Regions from separate parts of the Homo sapiens genome. Here regions 1 and 3 are each linked to region 2. The links are contacts of gene promoters, found by promoter capture Hi-C in blood cells and fetal thymus (Javierre and others, 2016). All regions are on one chromosome and are shown on one strand. Each heading gives the region's core, a stretch centred on a gene start or on the middle of the fragment in contact. The rest is flanking DNA. Distances are from core to core; before and after follow the strand shown. Region 1 overlaps ETS1 (ETS proto-oncogene 1, transcription factor). Region 2 holds the start of PRDM10 (PR/SET domain 10). Region 3 overlaps FLI1 (Fli-1 proto-oncogene, ETS transcription factor).

Region 1 (3,131 bases), core at 55-2,554, 1.5 Mb after region 2:
CCCATAGAACTGAGGCTGGGTGGAGGGCCCCGGGCAGTCTAACGGGTTGGCCTTCAGGCAGATTTTCAAATAAGGTCTTGCCTCCCCAAGCGTCCCTGTCACATGCCTTGCCCCTCTTTTCTGGGTTGAGGGTAAGGAGATCGGAGGAGAATTGAAATTATCCTCTTAACTTTGAGAAACGTCCGACCCTATTCATGTAGGTTACTTACTTTACCCATGTTTCTAATCTGCCATAAATTTTTCTTCTGGTACCAAAGGTCCGTTGGAAGGAAAGCATCAAACACCCAAATGTGACTTTGTGTCTTTGGTACATGGTGTTGTCCAACTCTTTCATTTATATGCATTTGAAGAAGAGAAGGATAGGAAGTAATTTTTTTTTTTTTTGTCTTTGACACAAATATTGGTGCTAAGCAACTTAAGAGAGTCTGGCCTTACAGAATTTCTGAAACAAATGTAGTTTGAGAGGGAAAGATGCTTTCTTTTAGGATAAGGCACTGCCAGCTATCCTTAGAGATGAGTGATTTTGGAGGTGAAAGTATATAGAAAGATCTAGGGAGAAGGCAGTGCACCCTGGAAAATAATTAATTTCAAGAACAGGCTCCTCTGTTGTATCTGATTATCAATAAGTTTAGTTGCTGCCCCCTGTGGTTAACACTTCTTTGCCTCTGCCATAATTTATTGCTTACTTTAACCCTTTCTTACGCTGCTTAAACTTTCAGCACAACCATACTGATGTTTTGTCATTCTGAGGTCCTTCAGAAATATTAATAAAGACATGTAGGTCACGTCCCCTCCCTCTGGGTCCCCTGACATTCAGCTCCAGGGCTGCTGTGCACAGAAGGCTGAGATTTTGTCTCCTCGCAAGGATGATGGTGGTGGGAGCAATGCTGAGAGCGCAGCTGGAACCATGGAGACATTTAAGGCACTTAGGCCTACAATTCAGAAATGCTGTTTCTATGATGGTTGTGTTTGGGGGTTCGAGGAAGCTAGAATGAGTTCTGTTTGTCAGTTGATTGAAACCATATATAGAAGTGAAAAGATAGTTCACATCAAAGATATAAACTCAACTAATAGGTCCTTTCCTTAAGAACAGCTTGTTTATATGTGTTGTTATGGGTGTTTATGGGGGAAGAGACAGATTTGGTCATCTGGGAAATATCGTGTCGATATGTCAGTCCACATACCTACAAGGGATCTTTCATCCTGGGAATGAAAAAGAGCCCTGGCAACACATGTTTCAGATCACAGTGAACAGCTGAGGCAATTTTTTTGGTAATTTAATATTAAATATTAGAGACAATGTATATGGTGCCGTCATTTCAGTTACTGATTAAAAATAAGCTCTGGGCAAGTAACTTTCTTTAGCTTTCTATTCTGTAAAATGGGAACAATAAGGCCTAACGCTACAGTCAGCGTCCATTATAATAAGCATATTTGCAATGGCTTTCTTTTTCAAAAAAGATTTCCAAGCCATTGGTCATCTTTTGTATGTGAACTTCGATACAACAAAATTTCAACTGGCCAAAGAAATTGGGCAGTCTTCTGCCATTCATTGTAAAGAGGTTTGATTTCTAGCACCATTATTTATTATCTTGGAAAAAATAAAGACAAAAACTTGAAAAAATATATAGACTATAATCAACTTTTTTTTTTCTGGACCTTTAGTTGCTTATATGCGAACATTATGCCCATACCTCAGAGAGGAAAATAGAGTCACAGGAAAGGTAAATAATTGACATAAAAATATGTAGTGAGCCAGTGGCTGAAGTACAATCAATTCCTGTTTCTAACTTCGCAATGTATATTGCTTTGAGTAATGTTGCAAGATACCTTCCAAAAGCTCAGCAAAGAAACCTCAGCTGAGACTTAACTTGCAGGTGCAAAGCAAGGATGGGAGAAACGGTGTTTCTGGCCAGGGCTGTCTGCTTTTGTTAGTGGAAGGACAAGACATTGGCTAAGTGCGGATTTGCCTTGCCCATCAGACCATATAGGACATGTGTTTAAAGTTTAACTTCTCACAGCGTAGCTTTTTATCCACAGCTGTGACTTAAATATTTGTCAGAATGATTTCTTTGGGTTGCTTAGTTTCTTATGTGTGGAGACAGCTAGTGTGGGATCTTATCTGGCTTAAATGATTAAACCAGAATTTTCTCCCCACCCCCTCCCAAATTCATGAGTGCCAAAGAGAGGCAGTAAGAAAGTGGGGTGTCCAAACAGGAGCCGCAAGACCTGGATTATTTGTTTTCCTGGCTAGGACCTGACCAAGAACCTTTATGCACTTTTATTCTATTTTGAGACTTCACAGGAGTTTGACAGCGTTAAGTGCTAAATTAACATATACTCTGAAATAACAGTAGAATTGACTTTTCCTTGCAAGTGTAAGAGTAAGGTGGGATATGCTATTTGATTGCAACAGTGTGATTGCAAGGATCTTAAATAGCTTAAAAACAAATATAGCCATTGGGTTCACTCCTGGTTCTCTCCTGGTGGAGCCTGCTGTGAAGGGGCCAGGTGCCAAAGCCAACACATTCCCAAGCCACTTAATTTTTCCTTTCCTTCAACACTCTGCTCTACCTTCTTGGTGAGGTGAGCTTAATGTCCAGATAAGAGCAGGAGCTCTAATCCTGGATACTTGCTGTTCTATAAGAATAAAAGGATCAGCCTCTCACCCCACCCGCCCTCAGCAGAGGGTGTACATCCATCGGGAACATGCGTTATACTTAGAGATAGGAAGAAGCTTTGTCCTTGCTCAGCTTGGTCAGTCTTTGTTTCTTCATCAGTGTAGACAAGAAAGAAGGGCAGAGCTGCCCAGTCTATTAGATCACTTGCTCACTGTGCTCCCAGATCCCCGCCGACCATACTCCATTAGAGACTAAAGAGCTCTATGGTTCAGAGCAGAGACTCTGGAGCCAGCCTGTCTGGATTTGAATCTCAGCTCGGCCACTTAGCAGCTGTGTGACTTTGGACAAATGACTTAATCTCTCTGTGCTCCAGCTTCTGCATCTATAAAATGAGTACAATCATTCTACTTCATAGGATGAATATCAGGATTAAATCTATGAATATGTGCAAAATCTTAAAACAGTGCCTGATCCATAATAAATACTATTTAGCAGTTAACTACAGAGCAA
Region 2 (3,184 bases), core at 113-2,612:
GGAGAATCGCTTGAACCCGGGAGGCAGAGGTTGCAATGAGCCCAGATCTCACCACTGCACTCCAGCCTGGGCAACAGAGCGAGACTCCGTATCAAAAAACAAAACAACAAAACAAAACAAAAAACAGTAAAGAGAATACTATTGAGTTAATTTTACAGTTTTTCACGCTGTGGGTGTTTTCTATTCTCGTCTTTTGCTTAGCTGTCCTGTCTCCCTCTTTTTCTCAGGCAATAGTTTAGGATTTTTGTAAGTTATATTGTCAGTACTTCTCATTTAAGTTCCAGACAGTGTGCTAAGCAAAGCACTTTACTCGGTAAAGTAAGAGCTCACTTAATCTTCAAAATAACGTAGCAAGGTAGATATCACGAACATAGCAAGGTAGATATCACCGAAGGGAAAACCGCTCCCCGAAGGTCCGAAGGTCCAAGGTCTCTCTGCCATCTAGCTGCCCTGCGTATTGCCTGCCAGTGGGTAGTTGGAGCTGGGTATCTCTCCAAAGCTGGGCTCTTGGCTGCCCTTTGTGAAGGCAATTTTAAGGGACAGCAGGATGTGGAAGCCTGCGGTTAAGGAGTGAGCTGAGTCACTGGGTAACCAGTGTTGAATAATGTTTCTCAATGTCTGAAATGACACTCACTTCCTTTCCAGATTGGTAGAGGAGAAAAAAGAGGCGCAGTGAAAGCGCTCTCAAGGTGCGGTGGGTCAGGGTGATAGGCGGCGCCCGGCCGCTCCCTGGGGGTCCTGAGGGCGAGACCCCGGCAGGCTCCCGACTCCGGGAGCCGGGCGGGAGTTCGGTTTTCGCCGGCGCTCCACGGCCAGGCCACTTCGGAGGCAATCTGTGGCGGGGCGGGCGGACGCGAGGGCCGCCTCACCCCCGCGCGTCTTCCGGGACACCGGGCCCTCGGGCGCGCGGGAGGCGGGCTTAGCACGGGCGCAGGCTGCCCTCGGCGCCCGAGACACCCAGGCACAGCTGGAAGCTTCCTCCCCGTTAGCACGCGGGCCGCAGCGGGGGCTTGACCCCAATGCGAAGAGTCGGGTTTTCTGATTGGCTGAGAGTAGAAACGCAGGCGAGCGCCGCCTGAGACCCGCTCTGCGATTGGGTTTTACACGAACAGCAGAGCACGAAATAAAGAGGCCTTCAGTCATTGGGCCATTATGTGAATCTCCTTTTGGCTTCTCTGCAGACTGAATAAGCGTCTCAGGATCTTCGTCATGACTCCTAAATCTGGGCCTGTCAGTTCGCCCCAGCGTTTCTCGTCTCTAGGCACGGCATGGGGCTTACAGAGTTTAACCAATCATATAACGTCGAGATCAGGTTGCCAGGCAGATTATGCTAATAAGACCCCGCCTTTTATGCTGCTCCCACTCTGCGGCGGGAAGAACCACCTGGAGGTGGCGGGGGGGGTTGATTTCTATCACCCCTAGGGAGAGAGGATCGGGGACCCGCTGATCTTCCAGCTCCCCTCACCCAACGTCGTGTAAGTACCTAAAGGATTAAGGGAACCAGATAAGCCAGGGTCCAGACTACCCCATAGACTGGGAGGGTGTTTCGTCTTTGCTTAGTCCCACCCAAAATGGCGCCCAGCTCTTTCCGCGTCTCAGAGCCCGGCCGGGGCCAACCGACCGCGGACCCGGGTGGGGGGGGAATTGATGGTGGTGGTGGGGGGGAGAAATCCCGGCGGCACCGCCCGATGGTACAGTCCAGCCGGGGCTGGGACGAGGCACCTCACTCGGGGTGGGGGGTCAAACCATCTGCACCTTCCAAGGGGAAGAGGGCAAGGCCCCCTCCAGCAGGCCCTCCTGGCGCCGCGTTCAGCGCCGGCCTCGGCGTCTCGTCGCCCCTGCCTTCGCCGCGCGCAGCCTCCCCCTGCGACCCCCGAGTGGCTCGCACGCTCCGCCGGCCGCGCGCACCTCTCCTCCCCTGCCCGCGTTGGTTGGGCCGGGACGGCGGTTGGGCGGCCTGCGCGCTCCGGCGGCGGCGGTTGCGCGGGCGCTCCGGGCGCGGCGGGCAGGTCTCCGCCGGCCGGGAGCCGAGCACCGGGGGCTGGGGGCCGGGCGCCGGGCTGGGGGTGGCAGTGCGGGCAGGGCTCCGGGGCTGGCCGGTTGCGGGCGCGTGGGGCGGAGGGTCCTGTTCGATGGGGCGCCCAGCTTTGTCTGCGGAGGCCGCGCCGCCCACTTGCCATCGATGGCTGGGCCCCCGGCCTGCCTTCCCAAGCTAGCGTCCGGGACCGGGGCGGGGGGCCGGCCCGCAGGGGTGTGGGGTGGCCCCTGCGGGTCTGTCCCGTGGCACCGCGTCGGGGCTGGCCGGGCGGAGGCGGAGGCCGAGGCCGGGGTCGCGGCCCTGCCCCAGTCCGCCTGCACCCAGGGTGCAGCGCAGAGGCAGGGCGAGGCCGGTCGGCGCTCGGGAGAGGGCTGATGGTGTGCACCTCTCCAGCCCCTCGCCAGCTTTTGTTAAGCAGGTTTAACCCTGCAGCTAGGTGTTGATACTCTACTAAGTAAAATGGAATATTCCCCGTCTGCCCTCCAGCCACGCGAACGCAGCGCTGTTGAATTTGTGTGCGCGCCTTTAGCCTTGCTTGGTGGATGAGTTGGATTTTAGTGCATTTTCAATCAATGTGCGTGTACACTTAAGCACAAGGAGAGGTGGCTTTGTGCTGTCATCGAGGATTAGATGTGTGATGAGACCCACCCAGCTCTGCCCTGTGCCCTAATTCTGCTGCTTTGCCTGTTGAAACCTTGCCTGTCTCGTCACCCCAAATTCTCTAAACTTAGCAGTACTTAACCTTTATTAAAAACAGCAGAATCACTCATGACTGTTTTGTGGCCTCTTTTTCTGACCTGTTCTCTTTGTTTCTATCACTCCTCCATCGCTGTAAGGCAAGAAGGTGTATTATTACATTGTATTTTTTTTGTATCTTCCTACCATTCCAGCATCACAATAGCTTCCACTTTGATGAGCAGTACTTATTTGTTGTTCTAGAATAGAGAAAACAAGATTTTTTTTTAAAATTAGGATTGGTTGGGGGCAAAGCAGCGTTTAAACAGTGTTTATTCAATATGGGGTATTTAGAAAGGAACTTTGCTAGGTTTATTTAGGAGACAGGGTCTCTGGTTGCCCAGGCTAGAGTGCAGTGGCGCGATCTTGGCTCACTGCCGACTCGACCTCCCGGGCTCAAGGGATCCTCCT
Region 3 (3,382 bases), core at 445-2,944, 1.3 Mb after region 2:
GTCCCCAAGGACTTAGCACAATGCCTGGCAGAGTATGCACTCCAAAACTATTTGTCACATGAAAGACTTTCAAAGTTTTTATTTAGCAGCCCATATAGAACATGAGAGTCAAAATGACATAGACTCACGTTGGTTCTGTCTGCCCATCAGAATTTCCTGAAAAGCTTTTTTAAGATGCACGGTTCTACCTTAGATGTCCTAGATGAGAAGGGGGGAAGATAGCTGGAGAATAATCTGGTACTGATTGGCTGAATGGATGGAGAAAGAAGGGAACCAGTGAATTTTTTTCTGGCCTCTTCTGCTATAGGATTTTAGACAAGGCTCAGCATGCTTTGGTGCCTTAATTTATTTCACTGTTTAGTAAAGCTGGAGTCACATTTACCACTCATCTCTTCTCCAAAATTGCATGACATGTCTAGTTAAGCAATTTTTGTTTCTTTTCTTTTCTTTTCTTTTTTTTTTTGAGATGGAGTCTCGCTCTGTCCACCAGCCTGGAGCACAGTGGCACGATCTCGGCTCACTGCAACCTCCGCCTCCCGGTTCGAAGTGATTCTCCTGCCTCAGCCTCCGAAGTGGCTGGAATTACAGGCGTGTGCCACCACACTAAGCTAATTTTTGTATTTTTATTAGAGACAAGGTTTTGCCATGTTGGCCAGGCTGATCTCGAACTCCTGACCTCAAGTGATTTGCCCGCCTCCGCCTCCCAAAGTGCTGGATTACAGGCCTGAGCCGCTGCGCCCCATCTACTTAAGCATTTTGAAATCTTAAAATAGGAGACGGTTCTGAGGTCAAATCACGATGACCGTTTCTAGCATGATGGCTTTTCAGCACATGGCTATGAACTTTGGGTTTTGCCAAATGATTTTTCATGCAAGTTCACTCAGGAAGGGTTTTTTTGTTTGTTTTTTGTTTTATTTTTGTTTTTTGTTTTGTTTTTGTTTTTTGTTTGTTTTTTCTGACACGGCCCCTTTAACAGAAAAAAAAAAGGGCTGCTCAATTTGTTAACCACCCTTTCATACTTGACCTCTTGTTTTGTGGTGCAAAAGTTACACGAGCAGACCGTTAGACAAGCACACTGGCTCGCTGGTGTGTTTTGCACCATCTATCTGCAGCCAGGCAACCTGTGCTCAGAGAAGATGAGAGCAAACTCACCAACCCCCCCACATTTAGGTCCTAAGGGCTCCCTGCCCCTGAGCAGTGCTGGGGTTAGTCCAGCCCAGGTCATAAGCAGCACAGGAAGCAGAGGGCATGGCTAATGTACATGTCACCGTGTGGCTTATGGTCACAGCCTCACCCTACCTTCAAACCTGTGCAAGCTGCAAGAGCAACAGGAAACGGCCAAGCGTCTATATATAGCCACATTGAACTTATCCAAAGGTGCTGTTTTGCACAGATTATTATGAACTTCTTTCACGGGGAGAGGACATGATGGCATGTGCCTTTTCCTCAGGACCTCTCGAAGCACTTGTAAAATTAACTACTCCACCTGAGAAGGAAGAAGGATGTTACACCTTTTGGTTTCTTCATTTTCAAGGCAAACAGACTGGTGCCTTTTCTTTTGCAAAAGATTTCCGGACACATTCAGCAAAGGCTAAGAAAGGATGGGAAACGGCAATGGAAGCATGCAGGATTTCTGTGAGCCTCTAAATACAGCCCATTGGGAAAACCATTCATTCCATAGATTGAGTTTCCCTTGAAAATCATTAATTAGTCTTTGCTTCTCCCTAATACATTTCCCTGGCAAATAAATAAATACACCCCTTCGTGGTGTATCCATCACGCAGCCCTTGGTGTAGCTCTCCCAAGATCCCAAGAGGCAGAGACAAAAGGAGTGGGTGTCAGGGCTTGAAGGGCCCAGCACCACAGACCACCTTTGTTCTCAAAGGGAAGCCTTCAAAAAGAAATGAAAACATGTGTCTGTTCCAGAGCCCTTCTTTACTGCTTTGGAAGTGACTTTCTGGGACTGCCAGTGTATTTATCAGCATTCTAGAATAGAATGCATGTTCTTGATACTGAGCCTGACTTTAGTAGCACCGATTTGCTCCTTACCCAGCTCTTCTCCCTATTGAGTAAGCACAGAAATGAATAGGATGAGCAGCGCAGCTACTGAGAGGCTGACCCACAAAGGTGAGCGTAAACGTGTGGCCTACACCCGCAGTCTGGGTGACCTCAGCCAATTAGGAAACCTCTTTGAGATTCCAGTTTTCATCTGTAAAATAGGGTTGTGAGGATGGAATGAGAGGATATAAGTAAAGTTTTTAACACAGTACACACTTAACAAATGCACAATACAAGGTAGGCATAGTCAAGGTGGTGATAATATACAAATCAGAGTGGGACTTGAGAACAGAAAGAATCCAGATTTCAAGATTTTCGACTTTTCTGTTTCCTGAAACTTCCCTTGCTAACTCAGTTGGCTAGCTCTGGCAACATGAATGAACTTTGTGTTCTGATATTAGAAATGTTTCAAGGTCAAATGCCAGATCAACATAGTTTCCTCAGAGCACTCCCTAACACAGGGCCACTTAATCAACATGGTGCCTAAAAGGTGCAGTTCTTCTGTTCTGAAAAGGCATTAAAGTTATAGAATTGCATTTTGAAAAAATAAGCATCTCTTTAGCAAAAATCATTCTGGAGAACAAGGTCAAAATGCTTCCCATCTCCACAGTCCCACCAGCCAGTACCTGGGACATGCTCTTCCAGCCTGGTTCTCAAGAACCGGGCTCTTGGAATGGGGAAGGAGAGGTGAATGATCTGGTTGCCATCCTTTTAAAAAGGGGTGACAGGTATGTGCATTGATTTAGTGTACATGACGACTGGTAAAAGGACACCAAAGGGAGCAAAAGGGGACCTCAGTTGTCCTGAGTCCTGAGTTCATTCTGGAGCCTGCTTGGTGCACTCGTGTTTCCCCCGGGCAGTGCCATATGCCTCACATACCTCCACTCTGATCCTTTTCTTTTCCCACCTCTTTAAATGCAAAGCATCGCCAACCATTGTTCAGTCTCATCACTGAAAGCTGAACACACAGTGGCAGAGGCCAAAGCCTGTGGCTGTGTGTGCCTGAGATTAAGACTTTTATCTGATCTTTGACAACTTGCAGAGGAAATCCTGTTCCAAAACTCACAGCCCTGAGAGAAGGGTTGCCAGCAGTTCTTCCCTCCCACCTGTGAGATAAATCAGGGCACTTGAAATGCGAACATGGTTGATAAATATAATAAGCTTGCCTCCTCTCGCTCCATTAATCTCTCCCCCTACCTTTTTTCTTTGAACCATGGAGCACAACAAAGTCTCTTGGCAGAGCCGGGCTGGGAGTCCTTTGTGTTGCCCTCGTACACATCCGATTACAAAGCAGAGGTGCCTAGCAGAAGAATCCCTGCAGCTG

The links. The method cuts DNA at HindIII sites, captures the fragments that hold promoters and counts their contacts. A CHiCAGO score of 5 or more calls a contact.
Region 1: a contact is called between a fragment that was not itself captured here and the fragment with the promoter of PRDM10 in region 2, in 1 of 17 cell types (neutrophils). The highest score is 6.1, in neutrophils.
Region 3: a contact is called between a fragment that was not itself captured here and the fragment with the promoter of PRDM10 in region 2, in 1 of 17 cell types (neutrophils). The highest score is 6.4, in neutrophils.

What each region holds. Positions count from the first base shown.
Region 1 is chr11:128,518,388-128,521,518 of GRCh38, reverse strand. The region is part of intron 3 of ETS1 (ETS proto-oncogene 1, transcription factor); the gene reads left to right. Among named protein-coding and RNA genes, the nearest start is that of MIR6090, 2.4 kb to the left of the region's middle. The HindIII fragment of the contact is 2,871 bases long and covers 1-2,739 here.
Region 2 is chr11:130,001,013-130,004,196 of GRCh38, reverse strand. It overlaps PRDM10 (PR/SET domain 10), which reads left to right and starts at 1,362. Exons shown (of 21, transcript NM_199437.2): 1 at 1,362-1,475. PRDM10-DT (PRDM10 divergent transcript) reads right to left here and starts at 1,573. Exons shown (of 1, transcript NR_024233.1): 1 at 1-1,573. RefSeq lists silencers at 639-1,028, 1,739-2,058, 2,069-2,118, 2,149-2,328 and an enhancer at 1,139-1,228. The HindIII fragment of the contact is 10,759 bases long and covers 977-3,184 here.
Region 3 is chr11:128,729,084-128,732,465 of GRCh38, reverse strand. All of the region lies in intron 1 of FLI1 (Fli-1 proto-oncogene, ETS transcription factor), which reads right to left. Among named protein-coding and RNA genes, the nearest start is that of SENCR, 35 kb to the right of the region's middle. The HindIII fragment of the contact is 3,055 bases long and covers 167-3,221 here.